Regions from separate parts of the Homo sapiens genome. Here regions 1, 2, 3, 4 and 6 are each linked to region 5. Evidence: promoter capture Hi-C in 16 types of primary human blood cells and fetal thymus (Javierre and others, 2016). All regions are on one chromosome and are shown on one strand. The core of a region is centred on a gene start or on the middle of the fragment in contact, and the rest is flanking DNA. Distances in the headings are between cores, read along the strand shown.

Region 1 (3,906 bases), core at 1,132-3,631, 360 kb after region 5:
TTAGTGTCTGCAAAGTACAGTATAAGTGAGAAACAAAAACATGGTGCTTTATCTGGGTTCTAAGGAATAACTATGCTGGCATTCAGAAAATGAGTATAAGGGCAGCTAATCACTGAATACTAGTTCTGTCCACAAATCTCAAATAAAAAAAACTTTTAAAGTAAGTATTAGATTTGGCTAAAATCTTGCATTGCTATGCAATACTGACTGATCATCTCTAAACTGTATTCTGTAAAACCTTTTAAAAACTCCTGATTCTCAAATCAATCTACTCCAGGGACTATTACACCACCTGGCATTTTTTTCCTAAATCAATTTTAAAGGTAAAAACCTCCCCGTATTCTCTTTTAAGCATACACTTACATTAAAAATAACTTTCACTGTGGAAGGAAGCTAACCTAAAATCCTGTACAATGGAGGAACACCTTTAGTCAAGCTGACACTTCTGTCTTTGTTATGTTTTGTTCTAAGTCAATCTTCCTACACTTCTGACCTGATCACAGATAAAGTAACATTTGCTGATAAGGTAAGAAAAAAGATAAAGCAAAAAGCTCCTCTTGTAGTAGGTGCTGTGTTCCTCACTCAGAATATTTATCCATATACTGAGTTATTCTCCCTAATGTTCCTATTTTTATATGGTCAGACTTGTTTAAGATGAACATTGCAAGATTAAAGATAAAAAAACATGTAGTTACTGCAGTAACTTTAGTGGATATTTCAGGGACAAAATTAAAACCTAGGCTTAAAAAGGAACAGATGAGAGAATCAAGTACGGGACCAGAATGGTGAAATCAAGAGAAACCACAAAGGCTGTCTCAGAATGAACTATTTGTTACAGGCTGAAAAAGAGAAAATCGTGAGAATTTTATTTTAAAAAATTAAGTTACTAAGGAATCAGTACTCTGATATAAATACTCTCTGGGTTAAAAGCTTTTCAGGCAGGATTCTATAATTACCCTGATTTCACTACAAAATTTTGGAGACCTATCAACAAAGTAACTTACCCTCTGTGAGGAATTAAGATTGTCTGTATGATTGGGGAAAAGCTCAAGTGTCAGGGATGGCTGTTTCAGAATTCCTGGCATAAGATCCATATTTGAATCACTATCTTGGTCCGAGATGTTACTTTCCAATGAATCAGCTATGGGGTAAAGGAAAAAAAGCAACTATAATACATACCACTTATTTGGAGCAAGGCTGTTAAAACTAATTATGCTCACCAGTCTAACCTAAATCACTTAAACAAAGCATTGCTTCGAGAGCAAGGGCTGACAAACTTTTTTCTGTAAAGGATCAAGTACTAAGTATTTTAGGCTTTGCTGGCTATACAGATCTCTCGCATATTCTTCTTTATATTTTATTTATAACCCTTTAAGAATGTAAAACCCATTCTTGGCGGCATTTGGCTTGTGCCACTGTGGTTTGCCAGCTCCTGCTCTAAAGGATAACCAAAATAAGACTAGAAAATATTTGACGTTTCAGATGTAGAATATAATAAATGCCATTATTACTCTCTGAATTATTTAGATTATATATTCAATCATGTAGCATTGTGCCAAATAGGCACTGGGACATCCAGAAGCTACAGAAGATCTAGTCTCTGTGATTAAGAGCAATCTGGTTGGAGATAAGTACACAGAAAGTTATCCTCCACCCCATCCAAAAAAATCCCCAAATATCAGAAATAGGAGGAAGCTGAGTTGGAGTGGGCACAGTTGGCATAGGAGATGTTTCACAACAGGAGACAAAGACCCAATTGCAGGAGCTATAGAATAAGGACGAGGCTCTAGCTCTGGGAGGACTTGTCTGGTACTAACAGGCTGGGCCAGAGAAACCAGGCAGGTATGTCCCCAAAGAGGACGGACAGGTTCTGGCTTCTGGAATTATAAGTAGTAAACCAGAACCTTGACGGGAAGCCCAACAGCTGTTATAATTCAAACCTAAACCATGGAAGGTCCAACCTTCCAGGAACACAGCCGGCCCCAGAGAGTAAGACAGGGAGGGGCCTAGAGTGAGAAATCAAGGGTCCAAGTACAAAGGTTAGGCAGCTACCAAGGTAGGGCACAACAAAAGTCATTAGTCTGGAAATAAGACTGAAATCGTGATGTATAGTATCCCATCCTACAAATGATCTCAAAGAAGAAGGTGAAGTTTCCCACCTACTGCCAGACCACCTACTCGGTCAGGCATGAACAAACAGGCTTAATTTGCAAAGAGCAAAGGTTCTGGGCAAAATAAAACTGTGAGTTCAGACTAAGAAGTAATAATTACTCCCAATTCTTAAAAAGTCTTGGACCACCATCTTTTCTAGGCTGCTGAAGTTTCTCTTGCTCAGTGTTAGAAGAATGGCCATATGCTATCATGAGATACTTCCAGTTGTAGGATTCTAGGTGGTTCCATGCAAAGGCTCTCATATGGGAATAGAAAAGTAGGTGAGGGATCACTCGTAATTAGAGAAAGAAATGAACTGGAAAATAAGCCTATGTATTGATTAATTAGATTAAAGAAAGCAAAATATCAGTTGAAATGGGATTCCTTCACTATTTAAAGATTATTAGAGGGTCAGTCTGCTTGTCTTTAACTACTTTCCATAAAAAAGTTAAGAGAAGACATCTTGTGCTTCTGCATATTGTTATAATGCCTTAGAAGCTAAAGAATGCCTTAGATCACTTCAAAATCTCTTCCAATGCAGTAATATCACACAACCCAGGAATATAAAAATAGATCCTAAAACAGGACCATGCAAAAATCATCTTACTTAAGGACTCCACAGGAGAAGGAACCACAAAAGCAATTTCTGTAAGGGCATCAGCATAATACAGCACCTTCTTCTGTCCATTGAAAATGCTAGCTCCAATATCTTCAGAGGAAATCACTTCTTCTGGGAAAAAGAAACACTACATTACCGCTTCAAAAAGTAGGAAAAAACCAGTATCATCTTGCTACATGAAATGTTAACTGGTTAATAAAGTGATAAATAGAATATATGTTTTCAACAAGAACCAATTAGTATGAAAGAATAAAATATAATGCTTATTAGATGTCTTTATTTTTAAATAATAAAATCTTAATTTCATAATTTCTGAAACGACTGTATATCAGACCACTTCTGATTAGCAGGGCTTTTAATTCAAGTGTATGAAGCAGATTAAGGGAGCAGTCCTTTGGATCCAGTAAATAAATAATCAAAAGGAAGACCATCCCAGTCCCTCAGAAGGGAGTTGGGCCAGAGAGACAGGCAGGCAGGCAGGCAGGCAGAGAGAGAGAGAGAGAGACAGAGAGAGAGAGAGAGGGGGGAAGAGGAAGAAGAAGAAGAAGAAGAAGGGAGGAGGAGGAGGAAAAGAGGAGGAGGAAGAGGAGGAGGAGGGAGGAAGAGACAGAGAGAGAGAAGAAGAGAGAGAAGAGAGAGAGTGCACATGTGCGTTATCTCTGGACTCTTGCTTTTAAGGCATTTCTATCCCTGGTCTCTCTCTATGGCTCCTCAAGTTGGCCTATGTTCCACCTTCCTCAATGGTCAGTGACACTGTATAAAAATGTACAGCCAGTTTTAGTAATAGTATCTGCTCTAAGCCAGGAAGACTGAATTAACAAAAGAAACATTCATGAGAGCTATATAGTTCTCAATTAAAATGAACTCAGTGTCCTACTAGCAATACATAAAAGACCAACAATCGGACCAAAAATTGGAAAGGGGAAATGGACAAGTACTTCTCAGGGAATAAATAAAAATATGATAAGATATGCTCAACCATTATTAAAAATTAAAAATTTCTCACCGAAAAAATTGGAAGATACCTAATTCTGGTGAAGGTATGGCAAATAGGAAGCTTTAGACAAGAGGTTAGCAAACTTTTTCTGTAAAGGACCAGACAGATAACATTTTAGGCTTTGTAAGCCACAGGGTCT
Region 2 (4,266 bases), core at 794-3,293, 300 kb after region 5:
GGCCAAGGTGGGCAGATCACCTGAGATCAGGATTTCAAGACCAGCCCGGCCAACATGGCGAAACCCCATCTCTACTAAAAATACGAAAATTAGACGGGTGTGGTGGTGAATGCCAGTAGTCCCAACTACTTGGGAGGCTGAGGCAGGAGAATCGCTTGAACCCAGGAGATGGAGGTTGCAGTGGGCTGAGATTGTGCCACTGCACCCCAGTCTGGGTGACAGAGTGAAACTCCGTTTCAAAAATTAAATAAATAAATAAAAAGAAAAGAAAGGAAAAAAAAAAACCAGTCTTGGCTCCATGCCACTCAGGATCCCTCAGCCCTGTGAGTCTAAAAAAGCTCCTGTGTTTATTTGGTTGCTCAAAGTGGCTTCTCTCTGACCCACTCTGACTCCACTCCCTGTGTATTGTGGGAAATTAGATTGCTGGCCACATCATGATTCCAGAGAGGCCACATGGAGGACCTCCTATGCAGGGCATCTCCTGAAACCACTTCTAGTGTAACCAGGGATGTTTTTACATTTACACTTGGAGGCACTGCATGAGACTATTAGGCCCTTAGGAGGTCTGCATCACCACGTGGTCTGTTTTGCCAACCAGGGGCAAGCCCAGCTGAATTACATGCCAAACCAGGAAGGGTTCCATGTGGAGCCCTTTCATTCCCTCATCTGCTGAACAAGTAAGGATGGAGGAGGGGAATGTGCTTGGCTCTGTTCTAGGCACTGTGGACACAGCAGTGAAAAGGGCCGATGATGTCCCTGGCCTCATGGAAGTTACATTCTAGTGGGGGTCACAGACACATGCACAGTGAAGTGCACTAGGTAAAGTCAGGCAGTGATCATTGCTGCAGCAACGAACAGAGTAGGGCAGGGGCTAGAGAGTGATGGGGCAGGGGTGCTATTTTGTGTAGGGAAGCTGGTGAAGACCTCTCTGAGGAGGTAACATTTGAGCCCAGTCCTGACTGGAGAGAACAAGCCATGCAGATGCCTGGGGCAAGAGCATTTGAGGCCAAGGGAGCAGAGAGAACCAAAGGACTTGAGGCAGGAAAGTGCTTTTAGGGTCAAGGACCAGCAAGGAGGCCCGAGGACAGAAGTAGAGTGACAGCCAGTCAGGGTGGGAGGAGAAGAGGCAGAGAGGAGGCACGAAGCCAATTATGTAAAGCCTGGTAAGTTATGATCTGGTGGCTTTATTACACGTCCCCAAATTCTTTGACTCTCACCCCATCAAGGGGTGGAGTCTAATTCCCCTCCCCTTGAACATAGCTGCATGCAGGGTAACAGAATGCAGCAGAAGCAATGTTGTCTTTCTTCTAAAGCTGGGTCATAAGCAGCAAGACAGCTTCTACCCAGCTCTCTCTCTTGGTCTTGTGCTTGGAACCCAGCCGCCATGCTGTGAGGAAGCCCAGGCCACATGTGGAGGCCTCATGCAGGTATTCCAGATGATAATCCCAGATGAGGCCCCCTGATGGTCACATCCACCACCAGGCACATAGATGAGAAATCTTTTGAGATGAGTCCAGCCCCAGCTACCATTTGATTGTAACTGCATGAGAGGCCCTGAGCAAGAACCACCTAGCTGAGCCCACTCAACCCCTCCAACAGTGAGGTATAGTAATAGTCATAATAATTGATTATTGCTGCATTATGCTTCTAAGCTTGAGGTGGTTTGTTACATAGTAGTAGATAATAGGGACACATAATTGTCTATTACTCTGAGATAGATGGAGAGATATTTGAGGATTTAGAGCAGAGGGCTTAGAATTTCCCTAGAACATTAGGTCTGTATATAGGAGACTGTTTTGTGTTCACTGTTGTATCCCCAGTGCCTAAACAGTGCCTGGCACATAATAGGCACTCAAAAAATATTTCCTGAAGGACTTACTCTAAGGAGGGACATAATCTAATTTACATTACTAAAAGATCGTCTTGACTATGGCATGGAGAACAGACAGTAAGGATCACGGGTGAAGCAGGGAGAGCAGTGAAGAGGATACTGCACCAGTCCAGGCAACAGAGAAAATGCTGTCATGTTCTGGTTCATATCTGGATCCTCTGACATTTCTCTGCCTGGAATCAAGCCCTCCCACCACCCCTATAGGCCCCCGCCAGGGTCTCTCACCCTCTGGAAGCTGGCCTTCATTCCCGCCACTGTCCTCTTCCCTCAGCTCATCTCTCTGTTGGATCTGTTCCACCTCCATCCAAAAGCCATCCATGCTGGAGCTCTCCACTCCAGTGGAACAGCCAGCAGAGCCAGCAGGGTGTAGTCGCAGGAGATTCTTCTGGGGAAGCTGATCCATTCGGCCTGAGGAGGGGCCAGAGCTGTAGCAAGTGGGGAAGGTGCAGGGAGGTCAGCAAGTCTCTGCTTATGATGGGGGTTGTGCTGAGGCTTGTGGCTCTCCAGAAATCAGCCTGGGCCCCTGGGGGCTAAGCAAGCTTCCTAGGCATGTTTCTCAGGGTGATCTCAGCAAATTGACTGGTGACCCATCACCCCTGCGGGATCCTTGGAAACCAGCAATGCTGCAGGGGACAGAGCAGGGCCAGACTGCTCTGCTTGCTTCCACCTTCTTGGTCAAGGCTAACAGTCTTGGACATACCTACGGTAAAGGCAGCATTCCCAAGAGGGGATTAAACACCAGGACAGGCGAGGAAATGACAGGGCAGTGTCTCGTGGATCTCACTGAATTTTTACCCAGAAAGTCTCCTGTCTCCTTCCCTCACACTTCCTCCTTTGTGAGTCTGGCTGCCAAGCCCTGGGTCTCCTGTTTGTATCACAGGAGCACCTCATCTCCTCCCCTCTCCCAGCCAGCTTTGAACAGAGCAGGTACCTGATCACAGAGGTGCTATACATCACTGAGCCAATCTCATTCTCTCAAGGTGTTGAACCAAGGGCAGAGGGGTCAGTATCAGGCACGTGAACTGGAAGCTGTGTGGGGCTGGAGTGGCCAGTCTTCCAAAAGAAGCAGAGAGGAGACCCTCTGCAGGCATGGAGGGATGTGGGGTAACCTAAGCTTGATTTTCCAGGTCCCAGTTGCAGCCTTTCATGATCCAGGCTATGTGGTTTACCCCTAGAGCCCTGACTCCCACATCCTTCCCTTTAATCCCCCTCTTCTTCCCAAGCTACACTCAATGAATTTCTGCTTCATGCAATCAAAGAATCTCAGGGTAAGACAGTGCAAGTCTCCTGGTCCATATAAATGAAGTCCAGGACTTCAGATGAGCTTAGGGACAAAATGTCCCTGTTGCTGGCCCAAATCCTTGAGAAATGGTAGGGTTGGTCATAATGGCAAAAATACTAGACTGGAATCACCTAGACCCTGACACATGCCAGCAAATAGACCATAAACTACCCCTGCCAGAAGAGAGGGAAGAAATCCATTTCCCCAGTTTCCTCAAGTGGGAAAAATGTATATTCTGCAAGTTCTATAGATATTTAAGCTCCCATGTGGAAACCAACAAAAGGCAAAGAAAACCAATAAACATAGGTGGTTTGAACTGCCCTATTAAAAAACAAGACTCATTTGGATTAAAAAGGAAAAGTCATCCACATGCTGCCTTTTTAAAAAAAAAATATATATATATGTGCTTTTCTGTTTTTGTTTGTTTGTTTGTTTGTTTTTGTTTTTTGAGGCAAGGTCTGGTTCTATGGCCCAGGCTGGAGTGCAGTGGTGCGATATGACTCACGGCAACCTCCGCCTCCCAGGCTCAAGCCATCCTCCCACCTCAGACTCCTGAGTAGCTGGGACTACAGGCACACATGACCATGCCTGGCTAATTTTTGCATTTTTTGTAGAGACAGGGTTTTTGCCATGTTACCCAGGCTGTTCTCGAACTCCTGGGCTCAAGCAATCCGCCTGCCTTGGCCTCCTAAAGTACTGGGATTACAGGAATGAGCCATTGAGCCCGGCCTTAAAACATTTTTGTTAGCTATATTTTCCCTTATAAAATCAATATGCAGTTATTGTAAAAATTCCCAGCAATGCAGAAGTGAGCAAAGTAGAATATCAATCATTCTCCTGTGGCTACGACCACGTTTTCCATGCTAACACTTTGGTGTGCAGACATCTCATGTTTCTCCCCAGGCATATTTAACCTAAAGGCAGGCACTCTCTTCTTCACTCAGGGGACATTGTTTTGGGCTCATGTCAGCCAAGACACAGAACTCAAGTCCTCCACCAGCCCCACAAGAGTCCCATGCATGCTAAGCATTTGATAGCTCTTTGCTGAGGAGCTGGATGCTCACAGGAAGGTCCCCCACACAGCGCATTTATT
Region 3 (4,344 bases), core at 1,262-3,761, 390 kb after region 5:
TCTCTGATAAAACATCTATTCAAATCTTTTGCCCAATTTTTAATTGGGTTGTTTGTTGTATTATTAAGGGCTTTTGTTGTTGTGTTTTGTTGTCTTAAAAGATTTTATTAAAGGTCTTTACAAGGCAACATCCAGACTCCAGATCCAGCTGCCAAGGAGACCCTATTACACAGTTGGGGCTGGGTAGAGCATGGCTTCCTAACCATCTGTCCTGAGATGGGCATGGCGAATAGTATCTCATCTTTAGGGTCTACAGTGCTCACGTGGTCAGGCAGGGGATTCTTAAGGCCAATCTTACCACTTGGGCCCAGGACGCATGAGCTTCACTTTGATGCCCAGCACACCCTGTCTTAGCAGCACATGGTGGATGGCAGTATCAATGCAGTAGTTAACAAGGTCTCTGCTGTGGATCATCAGATCACACACAAAAGTTCATGAATTCAGTTCTCTGTCCTTAGAGTTTCGCTGACACCATGACCTCGTAGCTCTTGCCCCACTCTCCATAATGAACCACAGCACACTACAGAAGGCTCTCCTCACAGCAAACCCTAATAGTAGTTTACAGCACAGACTCTGTCTGGGCAATGGCATAGAGAATTATTTTAGGCCACCTTTTCAGCATAAAGCTTTCCCTGCCCTCAAGGAAGCCAAACCTCTTCTGAACTATCTCAGCCAATTCATAGATCCGGTGGTTCTTTTCACCAAGAACACTCTGCATCCTGGAGGCTAAGGTAGTGATTTCTATCCTGGTTGGCATAACTTGGACCTCAGCTCCAGAGTAGTCACCTTCTGCAAGCTTCTGAGTGAAGAATTCGCTCAGTTTATTTCTGAAGATGCTATCAAACTTCCTCTTCTTAGAAATTTTCACCACCATATTGCTGCTGTGCACCACCAAAAGGAAAGGCTATTATTGAGTCCTGAGAGTTCTTTATGTAATCTGAATACAAATCTTTCATCAAATATATGCTTTATAAACATTTCCTCCCAGCCTGTGATCTGTCATCTCATTCTTTTAACAGTGTTTACTAAAGAACAGCAGTTTTAAATTTTGAAGTCCAACATATCAGTTTGTTCTTCTAGCGTAACACCTAAGAAATCTATCCCAAGGTCACAAAGATTTTCTCTTGTTTTCTTCTAGAAGTTTTATTGTTTAGGTTTTATATATATATTTTTATGTAATAGAGACAAAGTCTCACTATGTTGCCCAGACTGGTCTCTTCCTGCCTCAGCCTCCCAAAGTGCTGGGATTATAGGCATGAGTCACCATGCCCAGCCAGTTTGAGTTAATTTTTGTTCATAGTGCAAGGTATGAATCAAAATTTTTTGGCTTTTTTTTGTGTGTATGACTATCCAATTGTTTTATAGTACCTCTGGTTGAAAAGACCACCCTTTCTCCTTTGAATTACCTTTGCACCTTTGTCAAAAATCAGATGACCACTTAAGTATGGATATACTATTTTCTTCCACCGATCAATTTGTCCACCCCTATGCCAATACCAGGCTGTTGTGTTACTGTAGCCTTACAGTAAATCATCAAATCAGGTAGTGTTAGCCCTTTATGAATTGTTAGGCAGGTCCAGAGCAGTGCTCCATTTAGGACTAATTATTGCTTACTACTGAGTGTACTAAAGGTCACAGGAAACAGTACCTTGCTCTCAAAGACAGTGTGGTCCTGTATGTCTCACAAATGGCTGTTTTTTATTTTCTGTACCAGTAACTGCTTCTCGCAAAGTTATGATGTCCATCCTGGAGGATCTTTGAGGTAAGCTCTAAGTGGTGGTAAGAACACCTTAGGTTTTATTGCTTATTTTGTTTCTTACAGCTTAGGTAAGTCACAGCCTCTGACAACTATTCCCATAACTGAAAAATAAGGATTTGAACCATATCATCCCAGACAGTAGCACCTGGTTATCGGCTCTTTGTTCACAAAATATTTTACGTATTTCCTCAATTATATATTATATGTAAGATAATCCTGCTCATCTTACTGTCAAGAAAACACCTAGATGTTAGAGAAAATGCAAAGAAAGTGAAACTCTCATACACTGGGAATGTAAAATGATTCAGTCACTGTGAAAAACAGTTTGGCAGTTCCTCAAAAAGTTAAACATAGGGTTACCATATGACCCAGTAATTCTGCTCCTAGTGTACACCCGAAGAACTGAAAACTGGTATTCAAACAAATACATGTACATACATGTTCACAGCAGCACTACTGACAACAGCCTAGAGATTAAAACAACCCAAATGTCCATCAAGTGATAAATGGGTAAACTGGGGTATATACACACAATGAAATATTATCCAATCATAAAAGGGAATACAGTTCTGACACATTCTACAACATAAATGAAACTCAAAAACATTACATTTAGTGAAAGAAACCAGACACAAAAGGTCACACATTGTATGATTCCATTTATATGAAATGTCCAGTATAGGTAGACCCATTGAGATGAAATGGTGGTTGTCAGAGGAGGGGGTGCGGAGACTGAAGCAAAACTGCTTCATGGGTATGGGGTTTCCTTTAGGGATGATAAAAACATTTTGGAACTAGAAGTAGAAGTTGCTCAACATTGTGAATGTACCAACAGTCACTGAATTGTTTGCTTTTAAATGGCTAATTTTATATTACACAAATTTCATCTCAAAAGAATACACTTAGAGAAGCACAAATGACCACCAAGTTCTAAGTTTCCAAAAAACTGAAGTAACGGCTGGGAAAGAAATCTAAAAAGTGTAGCCAAGGCCAGGTGCAGTAGCTCACACCTGGAATCCTAGCACTTTGGGAGGCCAAGGCGGGTGGATCACCTGAGGTCAGAAGTTCGAGATCAGCCTGGCCAACATGGTGAAACCCCATCTCTACTAAAAACACAAAAATTAGCTGGCTGTGATGGCGTATGCCTGTAATCCCAGCTAGTTGGAGGCTGAGGCAGGGGGATTGCTTGGAAGCGGAGGCTGCAGTGCAACAAGTTTGCACGACTACGCTACAGACTGGGCGACAGAGCAAGACTCCGTCTCAAAAAAAAAAAAAAAAAGGTGTAGCCAGTTTTCACTTATCTCTGATAATGGAGGATGGCAGAGCCACAGGTAATCCCAAATGGCATACATTAGGATAATCATTTTTTACAAAATCAATATGCATTCTAGTATTATATGCAAATAAATAAATGGCAAGTATTGAAATGTTTCCTATAATTTAACGGTAAAAATCTCATTCATACTCTTTGAACCTATTTTTAAAAAGTAAAGTTCATTGCATAGAATATCACTTGGAGGCTAAATTTTGTACACTTTGGATATAATATAAACTATGTTTGAGCATGATCAACACTAAAATACCCACACAAGGGGTTAAGAGATACAGAAAAAACAGCCAAGGCCCAAGGCTGTTGGGTTAAAATAAAAGGACTGTCTTCCTCACCTTTGCAAGGCCAGAGAGGAGCTCTAGAGCTGCCAGTGATATGCTCATGTCTTGGCGCCACTGGGAGTTGAGTCTTTGGGTGACGAGATGAATGCTGCGAATCAGGAGCCCAGCAGCTGAATCTGTATTAAGAGCTAGGATATAACCCCAATGCCACATCCCACAGGGAGGGAAAACAACTAAGCATTAGTAACGAGAAGCACAGCATCCACTAGGCACAGACCACAGCAGCCACAGTGAGAACGACGGGCACCCACACAGTGCTACGCTCCCCACCCCACTGGGTTGAGTGCCAAGCCTGACTACACGGTGCACAGGCACATGTGCTAGACCAGAGCAGCTTCTAGTTCCTGGTTCACGCACTTTGACACAACCGTGGGATTTGGCAGTTTCAGTGTCATTTTCATAACAACGTAATTTAAAGTTTCTAAATTATCAACTCATAGCTACATTTTCAAAAAGAGTGATGAAAAGGCTATCAATTATTTCCTTGAAACTTTACAGAGGAAAGTTCTAATTTTACGGCCTCCTCAGATGCTAGGAATTACTCTGAAGCAAGCATCTGTTGAAATTACTTACAGGGTTTAAGCCATCAAAACTCACATGCAATGCCTTTTCAAACATACTTTAACATTTAATTCTCCAGGATTACTTTAATACTTCTAAAAAAATTAAATAACCAAGCCACCATATTTTTATTTGGGCTCCAATCTATATGTAAAAGCAATCACTAGTTAGCTAATAGGAAATTAGGAAAAATTAAATAAAGACAAATTAAACTGAATTTATAAAGGAAGCTTTAGGGACATTATACCTGTCGATCCTATCAGAAAGAGGGCAGTGACAACAGAAAAAGGAATGATCATTAAAGAGAGACACTCATGCGACACTAACACAAATCAGGATTTCTTAGTAAAAAA
Region 4 (3,852 bases), core at 158-2,657, 320 kb after region 5:
GGATGAAATAAAGTAAGGCCTGTAAAACATTCAGCCCATAGTAAGTACTCCAAAAACATGAAAACACAAGGCTGCCTTCCGACCAACGAGCAGCCAGCAGCCAACAGTCCTCTTAAGATGGGGCAAACAGCCCGAGGGGACAGAGTAGTAACTAGAGAACAAAAGGGGGAGTGGGCTGAGAAGAGGCTTCCTGGAGGAGGTGGTGTTGAAACTCAGTTTTAAAGAAACAAGTCAGTGAATGTCTGGGAGGAAATGAGATATGCAAATCTCCCAGGAAGGGGAGCAGGTCTTTATGCTGGGAAGTGCAAAGTTTTCCCTGGGTGGATAGAAGTCTGTATTAGGGTTTAATGAGAACAAAGTCAGTAAGAAATAAATGGTAGTGCAGAACAACTCTCCAAACAAATTAAAATCCAGAAGCCATAACAGAAGAAAGCTGAGTTGATTACATCAAGACTTAAAACTTTTGTATGACAAAAGACACTATAAAAAATGTCATAGGACCTTTTTCCTCAACTGAGAGGAAATATCTGCAACAAATGATAAAGTGTTACTATTCAGTCTATATATATAAAGAGTTCCTGGAAAGCAACAAGAAAAAAAATACCCAAAAAATCTACTGGGAAAGTTGGCAGCAGATAGAAATCCACAAGTCACAGGAGATAAAATGCAAATGCCCTATGTGAAAAGATGTGGAGCCTCGCAAGTAATCAGGGCAATGCGAAATAAAACAAGGATGAACTCTATCAGATTGGCAAACACAGAAAAGATTGCCAACACTCAGTACTGGCAAGTATCGAGAAAAGACCTTCTCACACTTGGATGAGCATCTGCTGGTCAATTTGGGAAGAGTCGGTGACGCCTGACAGGAGGGGAGGTGGAGAAGCGGCCTCCACATTGCAGGCAGGGTGAGGACCCCAGGGTTGTGAAGGGCGGCAGCCTAACTGCTTGGTGTAATTAACACCTTCACCTCTGCTTCATTGTGAGAAAAGAGGGAAAATAGGAAGCTCCATCCGAAGGGACCTGCCCTTCGCTGGTTTGTAAGCAGGATCTGAGGAGGCCCCTCCTGCTGGAGAGCCCTGGAGGAAAGTGGTTTGCAAGGACTTTTTCCTGCAAAGCTGGTCAGAAGCCCCCAGCGGCAGCCTGGTCCCCTGAGCTGCGGATCTGAGGTGGCCGTTCCGGGTTTCGAACCAGGAGGATGTGTGAGTGTGAACGGCAGCCACTATCTGAATGGCACTGATTCCACAAATGAAGGATCAGGCCCAGAGAAATGAAGGAACTTTCCCAATGATGAGTGGAGGATTTAGGACTCAAATGCAAATTTTTCTGCTATGCCAAGGAGTCAGGAGTCCCGAATGTACTTGTCCCATGAAAACAAGCCTGTGCTATTTGGAGTCAGCTCCAAGAACTTGCCCTTTGACCACTGATATCTGACACAAATTGTCCCATTTCTAAATGGTGGGCACTGTACTAAGCCCTCACATGCATTAATGTCATTTTATCCTCACAACAAGTCTATGAAGCAGGTACCGCTGTTCACAACCATTTTACAGAAAAGGAACCAAGGCTCAGAAAGGTTAAGTAACTTCCCCAGAGGTCCACAGCTGATAAGTGGTGAAGCTGGGCTTTCAGATTCAGGCTGTCCTTCTACCCCTGACATATTTAAACCATGTGTAGGTGATTTATTCAGTGGTTGCGTTCACATACAAGGGGGTGTGTCTGGAGAGATCAGTTGACATTGACCCCAGTGGCAGAGACTTGAGCTACACATGAGCAAAATATGAGTGAAGGTGAACCTTGTAAAGGTGATTGATTCTACAAGCTATCTGTGTGCAATCAGCCAAGTCATTTAACCCATTATTGATTAAGGAAATCTGGCTGGTGCACTAGACTCAAAATGGGTCTTTCTGCCTCTCTGATCTGCCTTTGAACTCTGCCAGACACTGAGCATGTGAAAAGATGCTCAGCCTCACTAATAATAATAAAAAGGGCAAATTAAAACAAGAGACAGGTTTCTCCCAATCCAATTAGCCAAGACTAAAAATGAACAATAATGTCTGGTCAAGAATGTCATGTATATTAGGAAACAAGCTCACACCCACTTGGTGAGTCTAATTGGGTACAACCTTCCTGGAAAACCACCCAGAATATGTTTCAGAATTTTAAATGTATACACCTTTGGACTCCATGATTCCTATTCTGAAAATGTATCATAAGTACACAAAGATATATGTCCAAGAACATTGCAGTATAGTTTATAATAGCAACCAAAAGAGAAAAAGAAGCAACCTAAAATTCCATCAACAGGAGGCTAGTTAACAAAAGTACTGTCCAGTCATAAAATGAAACATCACACAGTCTTTAAAGAGGATAACGTAAGGGCAGGTGTGGTGGCACATGCCTGTAGTCCCACCTACTTGGGAGGCTGAGGCAGGAGGATTGCTTGAGTCCAGGAGTTTGAGACAAGCCTGAGCAACATAGGGAGACCCTGTCTCTACAAAAATGAAAAAAATAGCTAGGCGTGGTGGTGCATGCCTGTGGTCCCAGGATCACTTGAGCCTGGGAGGTTGAGGCTGCAGTGATTCCACCACTGCACTCCAGCCTCAGCCTGGTCAATAGAGCAAGACTCTGTCTCCAAAAGAAAAAAAAAGAATAATGTTGATTTCTATGTCTTTCCAGGAAAAGATATTATAAAGATGGAAATGTCATTTATAAAATAGTATACATAATACAAACCAATTCACGTATGTAAGTACAATTATGTGCATGGATTGGATCATAGATACATTTTACGTATACATGTATGTAAATATTTATGAAGCACAAAATCCTATAGGATGTACACTTAACTTCTCACAATTGCTGTTCTTGTGGGTTGGAGGTGGGAGGGGCAGGTGGATTTCACTTGCTACTTTTTTTGCATTTTTATACCAATCATGAATTAACAGAAAATATATTTCTACAGGGAGCAAGGATAAGGGGAATCCCAACAGAGTCACCTCACTCCAACTGGGTCTTTGAGGCACCTCCCAAGGCCAATATTGCATGGTTTTAAGATGAAGTCCACATAGACAGTGAATTCGGTGTCCCCCTCACATTATGGGATGTTCTGTTTGATGACAACATTGACTCTATTCATCCCTGCTCAGGCCTTTCAGGTCAGCATTTAGTGTATTATGTGGTAGTGACCAGTGTTATGTCTTCCTCCTGGACCAGCCTGTGGACATCTTAAGGGCTGAGAGAGCATCTTATTCATGCCCACACCCTCATATCCATCACAGGACTTCATGTAGAGGCAGTGAGCATTTCATTCATCAGGGAAATATTTCATGAACACCTACAACAAGCCAGCCCTGTGCCAGTGCTGGAGAGCTGTGGGTAAACAGAACAGATCCGGGCTTACATCCTGAAGGTTGCCGTCCTGCTGGAATTTGTTGAATAACTAAATGACTCACAAGCAAGGGACCAGTGAGATGAACAGACTCAAAGGATTGGGGGAGCTGACCTAGTGACCTTGTGAGCCAATACACAAGAACATTAGCCTGGAGCAAACAGACCAACCTTGTTCCAGGGAAGTAGTTTTCGCTTTTTTTTTTTTCTTTGGCAGTGGAATGTCTTCTCAATAAACAAAAGAGGTAACGGTGATATTATTATAAGCTGATTTTATAAGTTTAATTTAAAGCATTTACTGATCATACAATCAAGATAATTTTAGTTGACAAAAAACATTTGGGATACCTGAGTGGAGGTAGTATTTTTACTAGATGTTTAATACTTGAAAGATATAATAAAAATTAAATTCAAATAAAATGTTTGCAGAACCCTGGTTTAAAAACCACTGTTCTGGGCCAGGCG
Region 5 (4,093 bases), core at 490-2,989:
GCTGGGCACTGCCAGTCAGCAAGCAACCTGACCATGGCTCCAGACCAAGGTGTCTGCCACGACACTCTATGTGCCACACCCACCTGCAGGCTGCCTTCTTCCTCCTTGATCCCCAGCACCCTGCTGCAGCTTTATCGAGGCTGGCAAGCAGACAAGACCTCCATTGCACCCATGACCATGCCATACTAAGAGTCAGACAGTAGGACCAAAACCCACTATGAATACAGAAGCCGATCTAATGCAAATGTATCTGCATTTTAGGAGACCACTGCAATCTGGCACAGACCCAGCCTATGGAAAACAAACCCCTTGCCCCAGTTTCCCCTCCAGTCTCTGGCAGTAGAAAAAGCGGCAGGGGGCCGGGTGCGGTGGCTCACGCCTGTAATCCTAGCACTTTGGGAGGCCGAGGCGGGTGGATCACCTGAGGTCAGGAGTTCGAGACCAGCTTGGCCAACATGGAGAAACCCCGTCTCTACTAAAAATACAAAAATTAGCCGGGCGTGGTGGCGGGCACCGGTAATCCCAGCTACTTGGGAGGCTGAGGCAGGAGAGTCACTTGAACCCGGGGGACGGAGGTTGCAGTGAACTGAGATCCCACCACTTCACTCCAGCCTGGGCAAAAGAGAATCTGTCTCAAAAAAAAAAAAAAAAAAAAAAGACAAGAAAGAAAAAGCGGCAGGGCTCTCACTTTGCCACTCTCGTGTTTATCTGCTTTTTACAGCAAAAGATGCATGAAAGTAATTAGCAATAATAATTGCTTCCTAATGCCCCGTAGTTGTCTCTGGAGACCATCTTTCTGGAACTTTCCCTGCGTAAGTTCTTTGGTAATGAGTCTCCTAAGAAGCTCCTGAAAGTGGGATCTAGCGTTGGCTGACAGACAGGGAAATAGGCAATTTTCCAAGTTTGATTTTAACTGAAATTTGGAACTCAGAGTACTTCTGGTCCCTCCTTCAGGGATATGAACGTTAGGAGATGGAACCCGGGCACAATTCGCATCCTTGGGAACCGAGGCTTTCCCACTATCCCCTGCCACGAGGAGCGGCCCGGGGGATCCGGGGGAGACACGCAGAGTGGGGTGTGAGTCGGAGACCCTGGGACCACCTAGCCCGCGCGCGCTTCCGGTAGGGCGCAGAGGAGGTAGTGGCCCCGGCCCGTACTCCCAGCAGGCCTCAATTTCCCATTCTTGAAGGGGGTCTCCCGTGCGACCCAGGGCCCTGGAGGGCCGCTCACCTCTCGCGCCGAGCGGAGCTGCTGGCGCAGAGCGTCCTTGCAGCCGTAGGGGCCACCTTCGCCAGCGCCGCGGGGCTGGAAGTGCGTCTCGACACGCGTGGCGCCGCGGTAGGCGCCCTGGTAGAAGGCGGGCCAGCCAAGCTCCAACAGCGGTGGCTCCAGGTCCGACTGCTCGGGGAAGTAGGTGCCCGAAGAGCAGTCGTGCGAGGAGCCGAACGAGTCCTCGGCCGCCGCCGCCGCCGCCGCGCCCTCCTCTCCCGGCCTCTCCGCCGCGCGCAGAATGGCGTGCACCTCATCGGGGTTCAGGAAACGAGCCAGGCGCTCGCGTCGCAGGAAGGCCGCGAAGGCTTCGGGGCCGCCCGCCACCAGCTCCTCCAGAGCCAGGCGCCGTGACTCGCTGAACAGCTCGGTCGGGTTGGGCGGCCCGCACGGCGACAGGCAGGCGGCGGGCACCTCGTCCAGGCCCTCGGACAGCAGAGCCATGGCGGCGCTCGGACTCGACAGCCCTCGGACAAAAACCGGCGTGCAGTCCCGCTTTATAGGCAACCTTTGAATCAAACAGGCCCGCGCCATTGGCCGCACCTCCCCGCCTCGGCTCTCCCATTGGCTGCTTTCCTTCCAATAGCGGAGCGAGGCGGGGCGCAAGCCTCTACGGCTCCGCCCCCTGATGCGTTATTGGCTGCGATGCTGGGCTTGCTAAGAGGAATTTAAACTTGCAGGGGCGAGGCGGGCCGCAGAGCAGGGACAGAGCGGGGAGAGCCGAGCTCCTGGCCATCCCAGCGCGCCCCCTGCCGGTCGCCCCGCTGCGCGGCCGTGCAAGGCCAGGGACAGTCAGGCCTAGACAACGAGGAGAGGCAGGTGCCGACTCCCGGAGACTCTGGCCACGCTGCTCCTAGGCTCTCAGTGCTTTGGCATGGCCAACCATATCGCCTTTATCACCTGCCTTTAACCATGTATTCATTCATTCAAAGAATACCGGCTCATCGTATTAGGACTGCTCCTTTGATTACACCCTCGGGTAGTCTTCTCTCATTTCATCGATTTTTGCCTTGTAAAACCCCAACCAACCGTGGTTATACCCTACTTTCCACCTGCACCCCGGCAGCCCTACAGGGCTGAAGAAAAAACAAAAAGAGCGTAACCATGCTTACTGACTGGTCATGTTTTAAATTCATAATCCGTAAGACTGCCTGCTAGGAGGCCGGGCGCGGTGGCTCACGCCTGTAATCCCAGCACTTTAGGAGGCCGAGGAGGGCGGATCACCTAAGGTCAGGCGTTTGAGACTAGCCTGACCAACACGGTGAAACCCCGTCTCTACTAAAAATACAAAAATTAGCCAGGTGTCTTGGTGTACGCCTGTAATCCCAGATACTCGGGAGGCTGAGGCAGGAGAATCACTTGAACGCGGGAGGCGGATGTTGCAGTGAGTCGAGATAGCACCACTGCACTCCAGCCTGGGCGACAAGATCGAAACTCCATCTAAAAACAAAACAAAACAAAACAAAAGCAAACAAACAAAAAAACTGCCTGGTAGGCCGCATTTCCCTCATTCTCTCTACCTTTTCCTCTCTGACAGCTTGTCTTCCATGTCAGCAAGAACACAGAAACAGTAAGAAGGGAACGTCCACGTGCGGCCATCTAGTCTACCTTCCTGTCTGCATCTCTGCCCGTATACTGGGCATTGATGAACTGTGCCTGTGCCCATCCAACCCCAACCCCTCTGCCTGGGCATTTCCAGCCCCTCTACTACTCACCAGCATCGCTCCAGCAATCTTCTTCTTTCTCCTGGAACATCAGCTTCCCTCTTTACCGATTCATTTCTATCAGCCTACAAGCATGCTGAAATATTTTTCATCTTAAAACAACCCTCTCTTGACCCTACATTCCTCTAAAGCTCCCCATCTCACTTCTTATTTTTGCAGCATAGAATCTCAGATGTGGCTGGCCATGGTGACTTACACCTGTAATCCCAGCACTGTGGGAGGCCAAGGGAAGAGGATCACTTGAGCCCAGGAGTTTGAGACCAGCCTGGGCAGCATAGTGAGACCCTGTCTTTACAAAAAAATACAAAAGTTAGCTGGGCATGGTGGTGCGCCTAACTTTTAGTGCATGGCAGTGCTCATGATGGTCCCAGCCAGTGGGAAGGCTGAGGCAAGAGATCACTTGAGCCCAGGAGTTTGCAGCTGTAGTGAACTATGATCACACCACTGCACCCCAGCCTGGGTGACAGAGTAAGACCCTGTCTCAGAAAAAGAAAGAAAGAAAAGAAAAGAAAAGAAACCCTCAAACCAGTTGTCTATACTTGCTGTCTCCAGTTCCCTTCCAGCCCTCTTCAATCAGGCTAAAACCCCCACTGCTTTACCAAAACCTCTTGTCAGGTTCATCATGAGTTCCACAGAGCTAAATCCAACAGTCAATTTTCAGTCGTCATCTTTTTTATGTAAATGAAAAGTGGGTCATAAATGTGAGATGTTACCATTATTATTTAGCAACCAATAACCTTTTTAAATGGATGAATGCCTGCCGCTGTTGAGACGCCTCTCCCTCTCTACCTCTCCTCTCCCCATCCCCATCCCTTTGTGAAGTTTCTCAAGAATAAGTGTGGGGACTTCCATGTGTCCCTGCGCTGGTATCCAGGGTCCGGGAGGCTGCAAGAGAGCACCTTCTTTTTTTTTTTTTTTTTTTTTTTTTTGAGACGGAGTCTTGCCCTGTCACCCAGGCTGGAGTGCAATGGCGTGATCTCGGCTCACTGCAACCTCCGCCTCCAGGGTTCAAACGATTATCCTGCCTCAGCCTCCTGAGTAGCTGGGATTACAGGCTCATGCCACCACACCTGGCCAATTTTCTGCATCTTTAGTAGAGA
Region 6 (3,806 bases), core at 479-2,978, 340 kb after region 5:
GAAGTCCAATCAAGGAGCGAATTTGAAATCAGAGAATGGAAGTTCAGAGCAAGCCCCCCATCCCCATTGAACAGATGGAAGAGGGTTGGGCATTCCCAAGAAGGTCCTAGATGGCTTGAATCAGGGCCAGGGCTGAGTCTCGGACCTACGCTGGTTGAATGAATGACTTGGTCAGGCCTGGTAGGTTTGTCAGGGGTCCCCCGGGTATGGGAAGACCCTTGCTTCTTTAATATGGACCCACACCCTCCGGCCCAGCCCTGCTTTAAGACCCCTCTGAATTAAATTGGCCAATTTCTCCCCATGGGCCTGCTCACTGCTCCCATGCCCTCCCAGACTTGAGCGGCTCCCTGCAGGGCTGGAGGTCATCTGTGATGCTGGAGAAGGGCTGGGACCTCTGGAGGCTTTCACATGTCGGTCTGAAGAGGAGATGAGTTGGGGGTTCCAGGGAGGCACCACAGTTGCCAAAGTCCTCTTGCCTCCCTGGCAAGTCTCTCCCATCCACTTCTGCCATTGCCACTGCCCTGCTGACTCCAGGAAAACCAAACTAGAAACAAAAGGAAGGTTGGGACTAGGGATGCCATTGGGATGAGAAAAAAGAGGTGGGTAAGGCCAGACGTGGTGGTTCATGCCTGTAATCCCAGCACTTTGGGAAGCCGAGGCAGGTGGATCATCTAAGGTCAGGAGTTCAAGACCAGCCTGACCAATATGGTGAAACCTTGTCTCTACTACAAATAGAAAAATTAGCCGGGCGTGATGGCATGTGCCTGTAATCCCAGCTACTCGGGAGGATAAGACAGGAGAATTGCTTGAACTGGGGAGGAAGAAGTTGCAGTAAACTGAGATTGCGCTACTGCACTCCAGCCTGGGGAACAGAGAAAGACTCCGTCTCAAAAAAAAAAAAAAAGGGAAAAAAGAAAGAAAGAGGTGGGTAAGTGATGGGGGTGGGAAGGGAAGGGCTATGCATAAATGGGATAGGGTTCTTGTGCAGCGTCCGAAAATCTTTTCTCATGCCACAAATTATATAAAAACAGATCAAGCTACATAATTCGCAGGGCCCAATAGCAAATTAACACGTGGGGCCCCTTGTTCAAAAATTAAGAATTTCAAGACAGCAATAGCCAAGCATGAAACCAAGCCTGGGACCTTGTGGGACTGCAGGTTACACACCTGTGGAGCTGGCCCCGTACACAAATCTCTGAGGGCATTCATAGGAGGAGTTTTCCTGGGAAAAGGGCCCTCAGTGGTCAAGGTGGGACCCAAAAGGCTAAAAAATCATTACAACTTAGGTTAAGTGAGGGGCCCTCCTTTTCACCACCTCCTCCCTCCACTCAGACAGGGTCGGGGGCTAGTGAACACACTGCATGAACCAACTTCAGAGTAGGGCAGAGAAAGGCGGACACGTGAGAGATGGAGATTAGAGTTGGGAGAGAGAGGCGAGAGGCTGGCTCCCGGGTTCGTGACTCGGGCAACAGAATCAATCCACAGTGGTGCTATTCATGGAGATGAAGAAAAGCTAGCAGAAGATCAGGGTGCTGTTTTGCTTGGCTGGGTGACAATGGGAATCAAGATTCCTATTCTAGGCATGAGAGGGTGTCAAGCAGACAGATAATAAAGCTTGGGAGGAGATTAGATGAGACACACACATTTTGGGGCCATTGGTATAGAGATGGCATCTAACCCCACTGGAATGGCTGAGGTCTCCTAGGAATTCAATGGGTGCAAGGGCCTTTGGGTACAGCATCTGATTGCCCTGACACCTCACATGAGAGTATGTGTGTGTGCCTCATTTGTAAATGGAGGTGAGAATCATATCCTCATCATAGGATTTCATAAGTAAGCTTGTGGAAGGGGAACGGTTCAGACAGGCCTTGGTACCTATTGAGCCCCCAAGGATACCAGCCATTGTAATAATAATAATAATAATATCATGTCATCCTTCCACAAACATGTATTGAGCCTCTAGCATGTGTCTGGCAGTATTTTGGGGCTTTGGATGCAGCCACGATCAAACGTGTTAGAAGGCGGTAAGTACTACAGTGAAAGGAAAGCAGAGCAGGGTAAGCAGCACGATGCGGAGGATAGGGTGGGGGCTTCAATATCGAATAGGGTGGCCAGTGGGACTCTGCTGAAAAAGTGACATTAGAGCAAGCCCTCAGAGGGGAGGGAGTGCCCCACGCAGACGTCTGAGGGAACAGCTGGCCAAAGACCATCAGGAAAGTGGTGGGGGGTGAGGCCCTAGGGTAAAGGGTAGGGGACCTTTGTAAAGGCTCCTTGTGGCACAGGGGGCTGGCCCTTTAACAGGGCAACACCAGGTCTCCCCCACAATGAAGCAGAAGGCTCTCACATGCTGGAGAGAACCCGTCATCCAGCATGGCCAGGGAGCATACCTCTAATATGGTGGAGGCAGCCTCTTGCCCACATAGCAGCTGCCCAAGGCTTTGGGTGGGCCTTGAGGCTCCCCCTGGCCCCTGGAAGGGCCTCACCTGGCACAGCAGGCTCACCAGCAGGGCCTCTCCTTCTCTTGGCCGTGGAGTGTCCCCTTCCAGCAAAACTCAGCTGGGCCTTTGCTCCAGGGCTCCCAATCCAAGCACACACTGGAGTCATTTTCCTCTGAATCTGTGGAGATACGAGGCAAGGCCTCTTGGATGGTCACATCCTGTCTCCTACCCCTGACCCAGGAAGGAGTCCCCTGCCAGGCCTGGGTATCCCTGCAGCCTTGCCTGAGGCTAGGGCCAAGGCAGAATCCTATGAGCCAGCCTTGAGGCCTCAGGAAGACTTCAGGGCCTTAAAGGGTGACCAGGGACCAAGAAAGAAGGCTGCTCCTGTGACTTGGAAAATGGCCGTATCTAGAGGGGAGGACACAGAGGTGAGCAAATGACATACTGTACTGGACATGGTCCAGGAAGAGGCAGTGAAGAGACACAGTTATTGACCCATCCAGGCCACTAGTCCACTAGTTCATTCATTAACAAACATCTGAGTACAAAGGCACAATGATCTCCACTGTAGCCCTGTTTTGTGATGAAACACGCACACACGAACAATAAAACACCTGGAAACTGTGTCCACGTCCACAGATCACGAGAGATCTGGGTGACTAAGCTGTGGGAGAGTCACACCACATGGAGACCCGGACCCTCCGTCTGATGGCTTGTCATGAAGCTGTTAAAATGTTTGCATCATATCTGTATCTTCTGACTTGCAGAATATCTACGGTATATTATAAGCAAATTAAAAAGAAATGTAGGATCTTTTTGTTTTGAAAAGCAAATGCTGCACCATTCCCCAATTTGTTTTGAAAACCTGCACACGTTAATGAGTTTGCTAACAGACTCATCTTGGGGAGGTAGGGTGAGAAAAAAAGAGGGATGGGGAAGATTATTTTTCTTACTAAACTCTTGCATTGTTTCACTAGTTGCAGAGAAGTAACAAAGGTTTTTGTACAATGGGCATAATATCAGCATCTTCTAGGATGAGGGTTAACCGAAGGCAGACATGTAAAACTCAGCACAGGACTTAGCACAGGCCTTCAACAGTGTTGGCAGTTAGTATGTCTTAAAAGTCAGTAGGGGCCGGGCACAGTGGCTCACGCCTGTAATCCCAGCACTTTGGGAGGCCAAGGCGGGTGACCATGAGATCAAGAGATCGAGACCATCCTGGCCAACATGGCGAAACCCCGTCTCTACTAAAAGTACAAAAATTAGCTGGGCGTGGTGGTGCGCACCTGTAGTCCCAGCTGCTCAGGAGGTTGAGGCAGGAGAATCGCTTGAACCAGGGAGTCGGAGGTTGCAGTGAGCCGAGATCGC

The links. The method cuts DNA at HindIII sites, captures the fragments that hold promoters and counts their contacts. A CHiCAGO score of 5 or more calls a contact.
Region 1: a fragment that was not itself captured here is called in contact with the fragment with the promoter of FAM83D in region 5 in 1 of 17 cell types (naive CD8 T cells); the score reaches 5.3 in naive CD8 T cells.
Region 2: a fragment that was not itself captured here is called in contact with the fragment with the promoter of FAM83D in region 5 in 8 of 17 cell types (naive B cells, activated CD4 T cells, naive CD4 T cells and 5 more); the score reaches 10.8 in naive B cells.
Region 3: a contact is called between a fragment that was not itself captured here and the fragment with the promoter of FAM83D in region 5, in 2 of 17 cell types (total CD8 T cells and naive CD8 T cells). The highest score is 6.0, in total CD8 T cells.
Region 4: a contact is called between a fragment that was not itself captured here and the fragment with the promoter of FAM83D in region 5, in 4 of 17 cell types (total B cells, total CD4 T cells, naive CD4 T cells and 1 more). The highest score is 6.6, in total B cells.
Region 6: a contact is called between a fragment that was not itself captured here and the fragment with the promoter of FAM83D in region 5, in 6 of 17 cell types (naive CD8 T cells, total CD4 T cells, activated CD4 T cells and 3 more). The highest score is 6.7, in naive CD8 T cells.

Annotation. Positions count from the first base shown.
Region 1 is chr20:38,564,331-38,568,236 of GRCh38, reverse strand. RALGAPB (Ral GTPase activating protein non-catalytic subunit beta) reads right to left here. Exons shown (of 30, transcript NM_020336.4): 25 at 2,759-2,878; 26 at 1,005-1,141. Among named protein-coding and RNA genes, the nearest start is that of ADIG, 15 kb to the left of the region's middle. RefSeq lists an enhancer at 2,863-3,363. The HindIII fragment of the contact is 2,897 bases long and covers 933-3,829 here.
Region 2 is chr20:38,621,409-38,625,674 of GRCh38, reverse strand. ARHGAP40 (Rho GTPase activating protein 40) reads right to left here. Exons shown (of 15, transcript NM_001164431.3): 2 at 2,117-2,316. Among named protein-coding and RNA genes, the nearest start is that of ARHGAP40, 22 kb to the right of the region's middle. The HindIII fragment of the contact is 778 bases long and covers 1,655-2,432 here.
Region 3 is chr20:38,534,288-38,538,631 of GRCh38, reverse strand. It overlaps RALGAPB (Ral GTPase activating protein non-catalytic subunit beta), which reads right to left. Exons shown (of 30, transcript NM_020336.4): 16 at 3,425-3,558. It also overlaps the pseudogene RPS3P2. Among named protein-coding and RNA genes, the nearest start is that of MIR548O2, 20 kb to the right of the region's middle. The HindIII fragment of the contact is 3,425 bases long and covers 799-4,223 here.
Region 4 is chr20:38,604,685-38,608,536 of GRCh38, reverse strand. The region is part of intron 1 of ARHGAP40 (Rho GTPase activating protein 40); the gene reads right to left. Among named protein-coding and RNA genes, the nearest start is that of ARHGAP40, 4.8 kb to the right of the region's middle. RefSeq lists an enhancer at 1-254. The HindIII fragment of the contact is 7,117 bases long and covers 1-3,852 here.
Region 5 is chr20:38,924,063-38,928,155 of GRCh38, reverse strand. It overlaps FAM83D (family with sequence similarity 83 member D), which reads right to left and starts at 1,739. Exons shown (of 4, transcript NM_030919.3): 1 at 1,231-1,739. The coding sequence starts at 1,713. RefSeq lists enhancers at 77-166, 1,552-1,651 and a silencer at 1,762-2,121. The HindIII fragment of the contact is 27,857 bases long and covers 1-4,093 here.
Region 6 is chr20:38,584,839-38,588,644 of GRCh38, reverse strand. It overlaps ADIG (adipogenin), which reads right to left. Exons shown (of 3, transcript NM_001393816.1): 2 at 2,484-2,616; 3 at 182-544. The coding sequence ends at 2,498. Among named protein-coding and RNA genes, the nearest start is that of ADIG, 5.5 kb to the right of the region's middle. The HindIII fragment of the contact is 224 bases long and covers 1,617-1,840 here.